Linked DNA regions of Homo sapiens: all the other regions are linked to region 1. The links are contacts of gene promoters, found by promoter capture Hi-C in human tissues and cell types (Jung and others, 2019). All regions are on one chromosome and are shown on one strand. The core of a region is centred on a gene start or on the middle of the fragment in contact, and the rest is flanking DNA. Distances in the headings are between cores, read along the strand shown.

Region 1 (4,585 bases), core at 1,723-4,222:
AGATATTATACATATGTATATTATATATATGTAATATAAATACAGATATCTATCTATTTTTTCCCTTGGTCCCTACAACAGGCTTAGAGATGGAGTGCTAGCTAATTGGAATGAGGTCCTTTTCAAGGACCCCAGAAGCTTTGCTCTAAATCCCAATGCTGCCCCAACTTACTGTGTCACTTTGGACTCCTCTTCATGTCAGTTTCCCCATCTGTAAAAACGGGATATTGGAACTTGAAGTTCTTCAGGGGCCTTTCCAGCAGGATGAGTCCTCACTACACCAAGGGTGGGATGGGCATTCGAGTCCTGGGGATTTCCCTCCTCTCCCCAGTGCTGGATCATACGGCCTTCCAGGAGACGCTGGGATGTAAGATACTCTTGGAGGCTGGCTCTGAACTCGGGTGTCTGAATCACAGGGCAAGGGTAGGCGTGGGCTGTGGCTAACAGCCAGAGTCACTTCCCTGGCCTAGCTTGGGGACCTGGGGAGGAGGAGGTAGCTCTGGACACCAGGGTTCTTCCCATTGTGGGAGAGTGAGTGTTTTAGGGGGAGACCTGTCCCCCAGATTAAAGAACTGGGAGCCCTAGCGGATGTGTCTGCGAATGTGTTTCTCGAGCATGGGTCCTCCGACCTGGCCCCCTGCCCATGCTACCATCTACCTAAGTGCCCCGCAGGCTGGGAGCCAACTGCAGAGGGAGCCAGTGACAGTGAGGAGGACGTGTTCCCACCCCGTGTTCTGGACCGAGGGCAGCCACTGTCATTGCCATTCAGCCTTCACAAGTGCTGCATCAACCCAAATGCCCCCTCCAGCTTCTCCATCTCCCTTTATCCCTCAGAATCCCCATGTAATAACCGGATGGGATTAATTAGCTGGCTGCTCTCTCAGCTCAGGGTGTCTGGGGTAGGTAGGGATGGGGGCAATGGAAACGCAGGGTTGGGGAAGGATGTTAAGTTGGAAGTGAAGGGGCAGGGAGGGGGTTTCGTTTGAAAGGAGTATGGGAGCAGGGCAGCCCAGCCTGGGTTTCCACTGGGGAGGGCAGGGCCTGGGCCACTCATAAAGGTCAGTGAGGGGATTAGGAGCCTCCATGTCTAATCCGACAGCTTAACTAGGTCCTGGCCCTGAATCCGTCTCCACCTGCCCAGCCCAGGGACAGCAAATGAGGACGAGGCCCAGACACCACTTCAGCCCCCATTACGGCTTCCCTCTTTACAGGGGTGCCTGGGTTCCCTATTCCAGCCAGTCCCTTGACCACATTCCGTTACAAATAATGGGACATAGAGGCTGGGGAAGGGGAAGGGGAAGGGGCCTCAGAGGAGGGAGGAGTTTAAGAAGGGCAAGGGTGGCTGGGCACGGTGGCTCACGCCTATGGGCACGGTGGCTCACGCCTAGCACTTTGGGAGGCTGAGGCGGGTGGATCACCTGAGGTCAGGAGTTTGAGACCAGCCTGGCCAACATGGCGAAACCCCGTCTCTACTAAAAATACAAAAATTAGCCGGGCATGGTGGTGGGCGCCTATAATCCCAGCTCCTTGGGAGGCTGAGGTAGGAGTATCGCGTCAACCTTGTGGGTGGAGGTTGCAGTGAGCTGAGATCATGCCAGTTCATTCCAGACTGGGCAAAAGAGCAAAACTCTGTCTCAAAAAAAAAAAAAAAAAAAAAAAGGGCAAGAGTATGAGAGGACAAGGGGGACCGTGACGTGAGGGGAGCCAGAGAGGAAAAAAGGCCTCTGAGATGGGAGAAGGAATCAGAGAGGTGGGAGGATGCTGAGGAAAGGGGAGTTGTCTTAGCAGGAGGATGCTTGGGGAAGGGAGGAGTCTTAGGAGGATGCTAAGCTAAAGGAAGGAGTTTGGAGAAATGAGGGAGGAGTCTGAGCGGCAGAAGGTGCCAGGAAGGCCGAGCCTGTGCTTTCACTAAATTTCACCTTCCCCTGTTCCATTCCCCATGACCGATACCAAATAGCATAGCATTTAGAAAAAAGTAAATCTTGGCCAGGCGCGGTGGCTCACGCCTGTAACCCCAGCACTTTGGAGGGCCAAGGTGGGCGGATCATGAGGTCAGGAGTTCGAGACCAGCTTGGCCAACATGGTGAAACGCCCGTCTCTATTAAAAATACAAAAAATAGCCAGGCATGCACCATCATGGTGCAACCCTGTAATCCCAGCTACTCGGGAGGCTGAGGCAGGAGAATTGCTTGAACCCGGGAGGCGGAGGTTGCAGTGAACCGAGATCGCGCAACTGCACTCCAGCTTGGGCGACAGAGCAAGACTCTGTCTCAAAAAAAAAAAAAAAAGAAAAAACGAAGAAGTCTTTTGTTTCACCACTCCACGACTCCGAAGAGGCTGAGGGGGATGGGGAGGGCATAGATGGTGATAAAGAAGGAGTTCGGCGGTAAGAAGGGGCTGAGAGGAGGGGAAATACGCGGAGAAGAAATGCAAAAGAAAAGGAGGCCTAAAGCCGCTCCCGGTTGCATGGCAACCTTTGCGGTCAGAAGCCAGCATGGCCTGCTAGGAGGTGTGGCTTACGGAAACAAGCCAGTTCTAGCCCCGCCTCCTAGCAACAAGACTAACAAAGTACCGCCCCCTAGCAACGTATTATCGGAGGCGGGGCTCGGTTTACCTAGACTCCAAGTGTCCAGGGCCTTTGAGCAGGCGCAGAGGTGGCTGTACCGCGTGGCTCCGCCTCCGCGCGACACTTTTCCGGGGCTTCTCATTGGAGAGCAAGCCTGTCAAGTGCTTTCTGTTGTTTCGGAGGCGGGGCCTGCTGCCCTGCCTGCACTCCGATTGGCCCCGCGGGCCGTCTACCTCTGGCCGGACATACCTACACCGGCTTTTTGTACGACTGTTGGCCCTGGAGAACGATCCTTTGGTGGCGAGGGCGGGGAGGACGAAAGCGCCCACTGTGGATTGGACAGTGTCAAAAAGAGGGGCGGTCCCTACTGAAGGGGCGGTTGGGCGACGAAGGGAAGAGTCTTTTCAGCGCTGAGGACTGGCGCTGAGGAGGCGGCGGTGGCTCCCGGGGCGTTTGAGCGGGCTCACCCGAGCCCGCGGGCCAACGCGGATCCAGGCCCGACTGGCGGGACCGCCCCGGATTCCCCGCGGGCCTTCCTAGCCGCCATGGAGGACGGCGTCTATGGTAGGTCGGGGAGGGGCGGGGTCGGCTGGGAGTTGCTGGAGCGTTTTCTCCTGAACGTTCCGCCGCGAACGTTTCCCCCTGGCGCGCGGCGCCCAGAAGCGTTCGGCTCAGTCGTAGACTTGTCGCGCCGCTTTTGTTGGGCGCTGGACGGGCTTCCGGCGGGGCCCGAAAGCCGGGCGTTCCAGGCCATTGTTTGGGCTGAGCCTGTTTCCGGTGGCGGCGGGAGGGGCGGGATGGAGTGGTGGAGGCGAGGCCGGGGCGGAACCATTCCCGCTGGAGGGGCGGGCGAGCCCAGCGCCTGCCGGGGCCGGGGAGGGGCGCTTGGGTTGCGGGGAGGGGAGAAATCTTGGGGGGCGGGGGCCTTCGATGTCCCGCCCCACCTTCCCAACTCTCCTGAGCTGTCATCAGTTCCCCCGGCTGTAGTGACTTTTCATGGACCCAGTAGTCCGGATAACCAGGTCCCCAGCTACCTCGCCAGTAATGGAGTCAGAAAACCAAGGCCTCAGTCCCCTTCCAAGTAATGGACCTAGAAGCCGAGGCCCCCAGCCCTTTCTTCCCTCAGATCTAAGAGCTCAGGCACCCATTCCCCTTCTCCCTCAGACTCAGGAATCCGGGCCCCAATTCCCCTTGTCCCCCAGGACTCAAGAGTTTAGAGCCCCAGCTCTTTCTCCTCTGCAGGGAGGAATCCAGGCCCCCAGCCCATTCTTCTGTGCAGACATAGGAAGCCCCTTACACATCCTCTCCCAGCTCTGTCCGCCCCCAGATTGCAGGAATTCAGGCTCACGGCCCCTAGCACTGACTTTTAAACCTTGACCCCGATCCCTAGAACCCCCAGACCTGACTCCGGAGGAGCGGATGGAGCTGGAGAACATCCGGCGGCGGAAGCAGGAGCTGCTGGTGGAGATTCAGCGCCTGCGGGAGGAGCTCAGTGAAGCCATGAGCGAGGTGGAGGGGCTGGAGGCCAATGAGGGCAGGTGAGGGCTGGGGCGGATGACCTAGGGGGCGTGGGGTTGGCTGAGGCCAGGGATGCCCAGGCATTGACCCTCCACCCCCAACCCTGCTCTCTGCTCCTGCAGTAAGACCTTGCAACGGAACCGGAAGATGGCAATGGGCAGGAAGAAGTTCAACATGGACCCCAAGAAGGTGCTTGGGGCCACAGGACTGGGATCAGCTGGGCAAACATCCAGGCAGGGGCTTCTGGCACCTCCGGGTTCCAGAAGCGTGATGGTGCCGGGTCTATTCTAGGTGGACAGACTTGGTCCTAATCCCTGGATTCAGATACTGGCTGTCCATTTGTTTTCTGAACACTGAACACTGACCAAGTGTTCCAGCCCTCCTGACTGTTTTGTCCCCTGCCTGGAAGGTCGTCTTCCACTTTCTACTTGTATGGGCGCATTTCTGGTCCCAAGATGAGCTCGAGTCTTGTAGGGGCTGTGGACAAAGTGACATGCACAA
Region 2 (4,762 bases), core at 1,138-3,637, 260 kb after region 1:
CCCAAAGTGCTGGGATTACAGGCGTGAGCCACTGCATCCGGCGTTATATTACTCTTTTGAGACAGAGTCTCGCTCCATCTCCCGGGTTGGAATGCAGTGGCATGAAGTAATCTTGGTTCACTGCAACATCCGCCTCCCAGGTTCAAGTGATTCTTGTGCCTCAGCCTCTCCAATAGCTGGGATTATAGGCGCAGGCCACCATGCCTGGCTAATTTTGTATTTTTAGTAGAGATGGGGTTTCACCATGTTGGCCAGGCTGCTCTCAAACTCCTGACCTCAAGTGATCCACCCGCCTTGACCTCCCAAAGTGCCGGGATTACAGATGTGAGCCACCGCGTTTGCCCAGGTGATGATTACAAAGGAAAAGAAGCCAGAAAGGCAGGAAGTGATGTAAGCTCTAACAAGTGGTGTCAGAACAGCAAAGTCCTTGGGTGAGATGGGATGTCATGTCAGAGAAAAGCAGAAAATCTTGAGTCAAATAGTGACATCAGAGCCACACAGTGTAGTTCAAACAAGAAGTGATGTTACCACAAACAGGAAGTGATATTACGTGAAACAGGAAGTGATGCTATGTCAAACAGGAAGTAAGAGGCAAGGGCCAACCTTGGTGAGGTAGTAGACAGACTGCTGGAAGGTACACATGATGACCTCATCCAGGAGGGCCATGGCCTCATCACATAATTCCAAGTCATTGCAGAGCTGTGGGTCTGAGGACAGGCTTGGGGTTAAGAGGGAGAACCAGAAGTCGGCAGCCAGGAGCCCAGGTCCCCAGGTGCAGGGCATGATGGGAGACTTGGACAAGCCTGAGCCTGAGTCAGAGCTCACCCTCTTGGTCAGCCTCCTTCTCCATTTCCAGCACCTTCTCCTGCACAAAGCTAAGCAGCTCCGTGGTGTTGGCCATCCACAGCATGAGTGGCCGCAGCTCCACAGACACAGCTTCAGGAGTCAGGGGCACCTCGGGGACCCCCTCAGGGTGGCTTGAAAAAGAGGAAGGAATTTGTGATCCCTGCCCAACCCTCATCATAGTTTACAAACCCCAAGATCTAAGTCTAAGTGGGAGAGCAAGACCAACTCCCATTGCGCAGCTGGAAAAGTTGAGCGCAAGGAGAAGCAGAAACTTGCACTGGGGCATGCATGGGGTGAACACAGAACTAGACGCAAAACCCAACCCCTGCATCCCTCCAGACCACTCTGCTCAGAATTTCTCTTACTTTTCTGGCTGACGGTCTCCAATTTCCTTAATCTTTTCCTGTGGAACAGTAAGATCAGAATCAAGGTGAGGGGGATCCACTGAGGGGCTTAAGAGTTAATACCCTGGTTTTTATAGAAGCACAACTCTCATAGAGACTGGTCCTACTTTTCTTAGAGATGGGGTCTTACTATGTTGCCACCGGTGGTCTCCAACTCCTGAGCTCAAATGATCCTCCCACCTTGGCCTCCCAAAGAACTAGGATTACAGGCATGAGCCACTGCAACCGGCCTTCACTCTTCATACGGATTCTTTTTTTTTTTTTTTTTTTTTGAGATGGAGTTACCCTGTTGTTGCCCAGGCTGGGGTGCAATGGCTCAATTTTGGCTCACTGCAACCTCTGCCTCCCAGGTTCAAGTGATTCTCCTGCCTCAGCCTCCCAAGTAGCTGGGATTACAGGCATGTGCTACCATGCCCGGCTAATTTTTTGCATTTTTAGTAGAGACGGGGTTTCACCATGTTAGCCAGGATGGTCTCGATCTCCCGACTTCAGGTGATCTGCCCGCCTCGGCCTCCCAAAGTGCCGGGATTACAGGCATGAGCCACCACGCCTGGCTCTTGAGACAAATTCTAATCCCACAAGCTTTAGAATGGTCTCTCCTTACTTTTTAAAACATACACACCCTATGATTATGAGTGATCTAGCTCCTTCAGGTCCTCTTCTCCAATTTTTACCCCCAAGAAACTCCTTAAACCTCTCTGGTTAGGCCCTAGCTCAATAGGATGGAACGTTTCCCCCACTCTGAATGGTTTCTTTCTGGAACTTCCATCTGTAGGTCCAGTGGATTTGTGCTTCCTCGCCTCCAAGAATGAACTCGCTCACTGCTATCCAAGCTCCAAGCCCAATGGGCTGCGGTGAATTCTCACACTGATCTCTGTCAACTTCTCATCCAGTGGGATCTCTCCCCCACCATCTCCCATAATGGTTTCTTCCTAAGGTGAGTTCGTGCTTAGGTGAGCTCTCCTAAGGTGAGTTTGGGCTTCCCTCTAAGTGCAGTGGATCTACATCTCCCAGCATTCTATGGGGGGGCCCCTTGCTTAATAACCCCAAAACACCGGGTGTGGTGGCTCACACCTGTAATCCCAGCACTTTGGGAGGCCGAGGCGGGCGAACCACGAGGTCAGGAGTTCCAGACAAGCCTGGCCAATATGGTGAAACCCCGTCTTACTAAAAATACAAAAAATTAGCCGGGCGTGCTGGCAGGCGCCTGCAATCCCAGCTACTCGGGAGGCTGAGGCAGAAGAATCATTTGAACCCCGGAGGTAGAGGTTGCAGTGAACCAAGACCGCCACTGCACTCCAGCCTGGGTAACAGAGCGAGACTCCGTCTCAAAAACAAAAGCAAACAAACAAACAAACAAAACCCAAAACCCCAAATCCTTCCCGAGGCGTCATGGGAACAGTAGTATCCAGCCCAGCTATGAAAAGGGTTGAAGGTAGGGAAGGGAGGCTGGAGAAGGGACTTGGGGCGCTGGTGGGGCTGGACGGCGATTGGGGGGCGCTCACCCAGACGGCCTCCTTGATGAGCCGGGCCAGGCGGCCCAGCAGTCGTGGCAGGTGGCCCAGCTCCAGCTCACGGGCGGAATGCTGCACGCACAGCGCCAGCAGCGTGGCGGGCCCGAGGGGCGGCAGGTCTCCCGAGCCGGCGGCTGCGGCGCGCACGATCTCGCCCAGCAGCGCCTCCTCCTCGCGCGGCCGGAAGCGCAGGACTGGCTCACGGCCGTCCAGGTAGGCGGCCAGTGCCTCGCCGCGCTCCTGCAGGCCGCGGCCGCACAGGCGACAGGAGAAGGCCCAGCCAGGGCCTGGCGGCGTGGCCCCGGGGCGCGCGGGCAGCCACGGCGGCCTCGCAGGCCCCGAGCCCCCAGTGCGGGGGTCCTTGTACATGAACAGGAAGTGCTCGCCCAGCCCCAGGAGGTCGCCCGGGTGCAGCTCAGCCTCCCGCAGCAGGAGGCACCCGTTGTGCGTGACTGGGGCGCCCCGGGACGGGCGCACCATGGCCGGGTGCTCAGGGCCCGCGCGCACTGTGCAGTGACGCGGCAGGATGTCCGGGGCGTTGAGGAAGGTGTCCACATAGGGAGCCGGGGACCCCCCGCGGCCAGACGAGTTCCCACCTCGCCCAAACACGTGCTGCTCTCGCGTCATCACATACACCACAAAGTCCTGGAGGGGAAACGAGGATGCACTAAGGACATCACTTCAATCCATATCTTCAGATCTGTTCTCTCTGTTTTCTACAACAACTTTTCTATTCCCACCAACTTTTTTTTTCCTTCTTCTTCTTTTTTTTTTTTTTTTTTTTTTTGAGATGGAGTCTCGCTCTGTCCTCCAGGCTGGAGTCCAGTGGCACGATCTCGGCTCACTGCAACCTCTGCCTCCTGAGTTCAAGCAATTCTCCTGCCTCAGTCTGTTGAGTAGCTGGGAGTACAGGCGCCTGCCACCACACCCGGCTAATTTTTGTATTTTTAGTAGGGAAAGGGTTTCACCATGTTGGCCAGGCTGGTCTTAAACTCCTGATCTCAGGTGATCCACCTACCTCGGCCTCCCGAAGTGCTGGGATTACAGGCGTGAACTATCGCGCCCGGCCCCCCACCGACTTTGAATAGACACTCCAAGGAGATCTGGATCTCAAAGGACTCTCTAAGCACCCGCAACGCCACTGAGTGGACTCTTCCCAGGCACTTTGTATGGTGGATGGTCCCATAACACCCATCCCGAAGACCGGCTATGTACAAGGAGACCCCCCTTTTTTTCTTTGAGACAGAGTCACGCTCTGTTGCCAGGCTGGAGTGCAGTGGCACGATCTCGGCTCACTCCAACCTCCGCCTCCCGGGTTCAAGCGATTCCCCTGCCTCAACCTCCCGAGTAGTTGAGACTACAGGCGCGCACCATCACGCCCAGCTAATTTTTGTATTTTTAGTAGGGACAGGGTCACCATGTTGGCCAGGATGGTCTCGATCTCTTGACCTTGTGATCCGCCTGCCTTGGCCTCCTAAAGTGCTGGGATTACAGGTGTGAGCCACCACACCCAGCCAGAGACCCATTTCTTAACATGGGCTCTACCATTTCTTTCCCTCAAGCATTAGATGCTTTCAAGGAGATCCCTATTTCTAAAATGAACTGTGCAACTACCCTCACCCTCAAAGAATGGACCTTTCCAAGGAAATCTCCTTTTCCCCATCCCTGGTCCCACCTGTCCATTATTTCACCCCCACCCCACCATGGTAAAGGCTTCCAGATATATTTCCCCTTCCAATAATAGTTTTTCTCAATATTCCTCAAGCAATGAATGGGTACTTTTAAAGAGATTCCCTTGGACTGGGCATAGTGGCTGACACCTGCAATCCCAGCACTTTGGGAGGCCGAGGCAGGTGAATCACCTGAGGTCAAGAGTTCAAGACCAGACACGGTGAAACCTGTCTCTACTAAAAATACAAAAATTAGCCAGGCATGGTGGCGCATGACTGTAGTCCCAGCTACTTGGGAGGCTGAGGCACAAGAATCGCTTGAACCCAG
Region 3 (4,562 bases), core at 1,871-4,370, 430 kb after region 1:
AATCCCAGCACTTTGGGAGGCCGAGGCAGGCGGATCACCTGAGGTCGGGAGTTCGAGACCAGCCTGACCAACATGGAGAAACACCGTCTCTACTAAAAACACAAAATTAGCCGGGCTTGGTGGCGCATGCCTGTAATCACAGCTACTCGGGAGGCTGAGGCAGGAGAATCGCTTGAACCCGGGAGACGGAGGTTGCGGTGAGCCGATATCCTGCCATTGTACTCCAGCTTTGGCAACAAGAGCTAAACTCCGTCTCAAAAAAGAAAAAAAAATCACCCTGTTTCGCGGACCGCCCAAACCTTGAGACCCAGGTCCCAAACTGCATCCTAAGCCTCAAACAAGCACAGCCCTGCCGCTGGATTGTTGCGGGCTCCGCACGTAAAGAATCTCGCGCCAGGCTCTCGTAATGAGACCGCGCCCCGCCCCGGACCCCTAGACCCCGTCTCCGCAATCCCGGGTTTGGGGTGGGGGTCCCGGCTTTCCCAGGCTCCACCACCGAGCTCTGCCAAGCCCAATCATCACATTCTCTTGCCCCTTTCCCCTGCTAGTTGTACCATGCCCCGCCCCTGCGCTCTGTAGCCCTGCCCCGAACCCCTCCCTCACAGGTCCTGCCGCGGGGGGCCCCCACAAGCCTCTCCCCTGGGCGCCCACAGGCCCTGTTCTAAAGCTCTCCTGGGCCAAGGCCCGCCCCCATCCACTGCCAAGTCCCCACCCTAAGGCTCCACCCCTTCATCCACTAGGCCCCGCCCACAGACTCCCACAGGCCCCTCCCCTCCAGGCGAACGCCCCCAGGGGTCTTTGGTCACCTCTGTCACCTAAAAGGCGCTCCTCCCGCAGACAAGAGCGCCAAAGCCACGGGGAAGCGTCAGGATTGGCCTGAACCATGAGGAGCTCCTGGCGCTTCTGTCGCTGCTTCTTTTCAAACAGCCGCCGCTGGGGAGATGGGAGAGGTGGGTGTCCGGGACAGGAACCAGATGGGAAGACAGAAGTGAGGTGGGGCCTGGGGCAAGGGCTCGCATCGGCGCGAGAGTTCGTGAACCCCTTCCTCCACTGGGGCCCACACGTCCAGGCCCTCAGTTCTTCAGCAGCTCCTCCCTTATTCCACCGTTGGACTCAGATCCAAGAGTCCTGACACCCTGTCCTCTCATCCCCCAGGACCCAGGAGTCCTGCCTTCTAGAAGCCTTGTTCCTTAGAAATTCATCACAAGGGTTTGTTTGCTTCTTTAGAACCCCCAATTCCTATTTTCTTTTCTTTTTCCTTTCTTACTTTTTTTTTTTCTTTTTGAGACAGAGTCTGGCTCTATCGCCCAGGCTGGAGTGCAGTACCACGATCTCCGCTCACTGCAGCCTCCGCCTCCCGGATTCAAACGATTCTCCTGCCTCAGCCTCCCGAGTAGCTGGGATTACAGGCGCCTGCCACCACACCTGGCTAATTTTTTGTGTGTTAGTAGAGACGGGGTTTCGCCGTGTTGGCCAGGCTTGTCTTGAACTCCTGACCTCAAGTGATCCGCCCACCTCAGCATCCCAAAGTGCTGTGATTACAGCCGTGAGCTGCCCTGCCCGGCCCCAAATTCCTATTTTCTCATTTCTCAGTGGGAAAACTCAAGGATGAGAGACAGCCAACACGGGCTGGGAGTCCTAGAGCAAGACCTGGTGGAGAGGCCCCTGGGGAGGCACAGAAGGCGGAAGAGTTGGAGTGGTGAGATTCCTGGGCACAATACCTGCTGTTCCAGCTTCTGCAGCCTCATAGCAGCGAGCTCATGCCCCAGGATGCTGAGAGAGACACAGGCCCATGGTGACAGTGCACAGGGAACCTCGGTTGCCCAAGAGAGTCCCTCCTTCCCCCATCCTGCCCCTATCTCAGCTTGGGTTCTGGGCACCTGTGAGGTCACAGGAGGTGCAGAACCTGAGCCTGCTCCACCAGTTATAGGGCCCTTTCTCCTGGCACTGGCCCACAGAAGCCGGGACCCAGAGATCCCAGGTCCCTCCTGTCTCAGGATTCAGGAGTCTGGGGCCCCCAACCCCTTCTCTTTCAGACCCAGAAGTCTGCACCCTAGCCCCATCCCTTCAGGACACAGGAGTCCAGGTCCCCAGCCCCTTCCTGCAAGGCCGATGGTGCTGAACCTGCAAACATGGTTATGAAGCCAGAGCCGAGTGCACGGGGTCCCCAGCCCTTTCCACCTCCACCCCTACCCATCTGTTTCCCTACTCACTCTCTCATCAATGTGTCATTATCCTGAGACATTCTGCAGAAGCAAGAATGAGGAGTCAGGATCAGAACCAACATCCCAATGGATCCTGCCCACCAGCACCTAATCTTTAGCCTTATTTATTTATTTATTTATTTATTTATTTATGTATTTAGAGACAGCTGAGCCTCGCTCTGTCGCCCAGGCTGCAGTGCAGTGGCGCCATCTCGGCCACTGCAACCTCCACCTCCTGGGTTCAAGCGATTCTCCTGCCTCAGCCTCCCGAGTAGCTGGGACTACAGGCGTCCGCTATTCTGCCTAATTTTTTTGTATTTTAGTAGATACCGGTTTTCACTATGTTGGCCAGGCTGGTGCCGGACTCCTGACCTCAGGTGATCTGCCCGCCTTGGCCTTCCAAAGTGCTAGGATTACAGGCATGAGCCACAGTGCCCGGCCTGATCCTTACCTTTAAATTTGCTTCCGGACCCAGGCAGCCCGAATCCCAGCACCCACTCCTGTCGGGATCTAGTAGCCTGTTTCCAGCTTCCCACGGGGGTCCGCAAGTCCGCTTCTCTCTCCCCCAAATATCTAATTCTCCAGCACCCAGGCATCAGAACTCAGGACTGTGCACTTCAAACACCCAGCCCCCAGCGGCCTAGAACTCCACTGCCCACCTGCCTGGGATCCGGGAGACTTGTTCTCCTCACCAGGTGCCTGGAGAGGCTGCTCACATTGATGCCTCGGTACCTTGCCTCTCTGGCCAATCTCTAAACATACCTGATCCTCTCTTTGGAAGCTGGGGACCTAATCTCGGGATATCTGCGAAATAGGGAGGAGAAGAAAGACGGCTCAGAGGGAGGGAGGATTCCCTCTGGGACCTGAACTGGTCCACTCCCTTCTGACCCTCCACTCTCCACTTCCAACAAAGTAACGAACTCGGTCACTGATGCAGCCAGGCAACCCTGCTCCGGGGGTTCTGAACACGAATGCCGTGTGGGGGTTCCTTAAAGAGACCAGAGACCGGCCCGGCGCGGTGGCTCACGCCTGTAATCCCAGCACTTTGGGAGGCCGAGGCGGGCGGATCACGGGGTCAGGAGATCTAGACCATCCTGGCTAACATGGTGAATCCCCGTCTCTACTAAAAAAAAATATATATATATACACAAAAAAATTAGCCGGGCGTTGTGGCGGGCGGGCGCCTGTAGTCCCAGCTACTCGGGAGGCTGAGGCAGGAGAATGGCGTGAACCCGGGAGGCGGAGCTCGCAGTGAGCTGAGATCGCGCCACTGCACTCCAGCCTGTGTGACAGAGGTAGACACCGTCTCAAAAAAAAAAAAAAAAAGAGAGAGAGAGAGCGGGAGACCAGAGACCTCGCGGCCTCACTGTACACATCTCGCTTACAAGAAACTTAAAAGAGGCGGGGCGCAGTGGCTCACGCCTGTAATCCCAGCACTTTGGGAGGCGGAGACGGGGAGGCAAGATTGCTTGAGTCCAGGAGATCCAGATCCAGACCAGCAACACAGAGATTTTTTTTTTTTTTTGAGACGTAGTCTCACTCTGTCGCCCAGGCTGGAGTGCAGTGGCGCGATCTCGGCTCACTGCAACCTCCGCCTCCCGGGTTTAAGAGATTGTCCTGCCTCAGCTTCCTGAGTAGCTGGGATTACAGGCATGCGCAACCACGCCTGGCTAATTTGTATTTTTAGTGGAGGCGAGGTTTCTCCATGTTGGCCAGGCTGGTCTCAAACCCTTGACCTCAGGTGATCTGCCTGCCTCAGCCTCCCAAAGTGCTGGGATTACAGGAGTGAACCCCCAAGCCCGGCTTGACATCCGTCTCTTTAAAAAACAACAACAACAAAGTGTGAGAAGTGTGAAAGACAGAACGTTAAAAAAAAAAAAAGGCTAAAAAAGAATTAAAGATTTAAATATTTGTATTAAAAATTTAAAAAATATACATTAGCCAGGCATGGTAGTGTGGCCTGTGGTCCCATCTACTTGGGAGGCTGACGCGGGAGGATTGCTTGGGCCTGGGAGGTAGAGGCTGCAGTGAGAAGTGATTGCGCCACTGCACTCCAACCTGGGTGACAGAGCAAACCCTGTCTCGAATAATAAGAAGAAGAAGAAAGAAACTCATAAGAAAGGCTATGCAATTGCTACCGCGCTATAACTTCCAGGCACTTCGTGGGGCGAAAATAAATGGGAAAACTACAGCTCCCATGAGGCGAAGGGGCCACGATGCCCGCGGAAGTTATTTTTCCCCCGGCCGGCAGGGAGTTGTAGTTATCTTTGAAAGCCTTCTCTCTCTTTTGGCATAGGCGGGAAATGTGGCGTCAAGAGGCTGGGATTCCGAGAAAGAAGCGAGGCTTTCACGAAAATG

The links. Contacts are between HindIII fragments. The study calls those that stand out against the background at their distance.
Region 2: a fragment that was not itself captured here is called in contact with the fragment with the promoter of CYTH2 in region 1 in 1 of the 25 tissues and cell types used here (pancreas).
Region 3: a contact is called between the fragment with the promoter of TULP2 here and the fragment with the promoter of CYTH2 in region 1, in 1 of the 25 tissues and cell types used here (neural progenitor cells).

The regions. Positions count from the first base shown.
Region 1 is chr19:48,466,397-48,470,981 of GRCh38, forward strand. It overlaps CYTH2 (cytohesin 2), which reads left to right and starts at 2,973. Exons shown (of 12, transcript NM_004228.7): 1 at 2,973-3,130; 2 at 3,957-4,104; 3 at 4,207-4,273. The coding sequence starts at 3,112. LOC105372430 (a long non-coding RNA gene) reads right to left here and starts at 3,137. Exons shown (of 3, transcript NR_186576.1): 1 at 2,615-3,137; 2 at 173-211. KCNJ14 (potassium inwardly rectifying channel subfamily J member 14) reads left to right here. Exons shown (of 3, transcript NM_013348.4): 3 at 1-584. RefSeq lists enhancers at 2,074-2,574, 2,279-2,438, 2,632-3,625 and a silencer at 2,989-3,178. The HindIII fragment of the contact is 6,294 bases long and covers 1-4,585 here.
Region 2 is chr19:48,726,182-48,730,943 of GRCh38, forward strand. It overlaps RASIP1 (Ras interacting protein 1), which reads right to left. Exons shown (of 12, transcript NM_017805.3): 5 at 2,756-3,409; 6 at 1,212-1,249; 7 at 826-977; 8 at 604-707. LOC124904737 (a long non-coding RNA gene) reads left to right here and starts at 1,963. Exons shown (of 2, transcript XR_007067286.1): 1 at 1,963-2,187. The HindIII fragment of the contact is 9,581 bases long and covers 1-4,762 here.
Region 3 is chr19:48,895,624-48,900,185 of GRCh38, forward strand. It overlaps TULP2 (TUB like protein 2), which reads right to left and starts at 3,121. Exons shown (of 13, transcript NM_003323.3): 1 at 2,967-3,121; 2 at 2,214-2,246; 3 at 1,722-1,773; 4 at 807-933. The coding sequence starts at 2,245. RefSeq lists enhancers at 1-68, 2,516-3,331, a silencer at 495-634 and a cis regulatory region at 2,866-3,865. The HindIII fragment of the contact is 17,343 bases long and covers 1-4,562 here.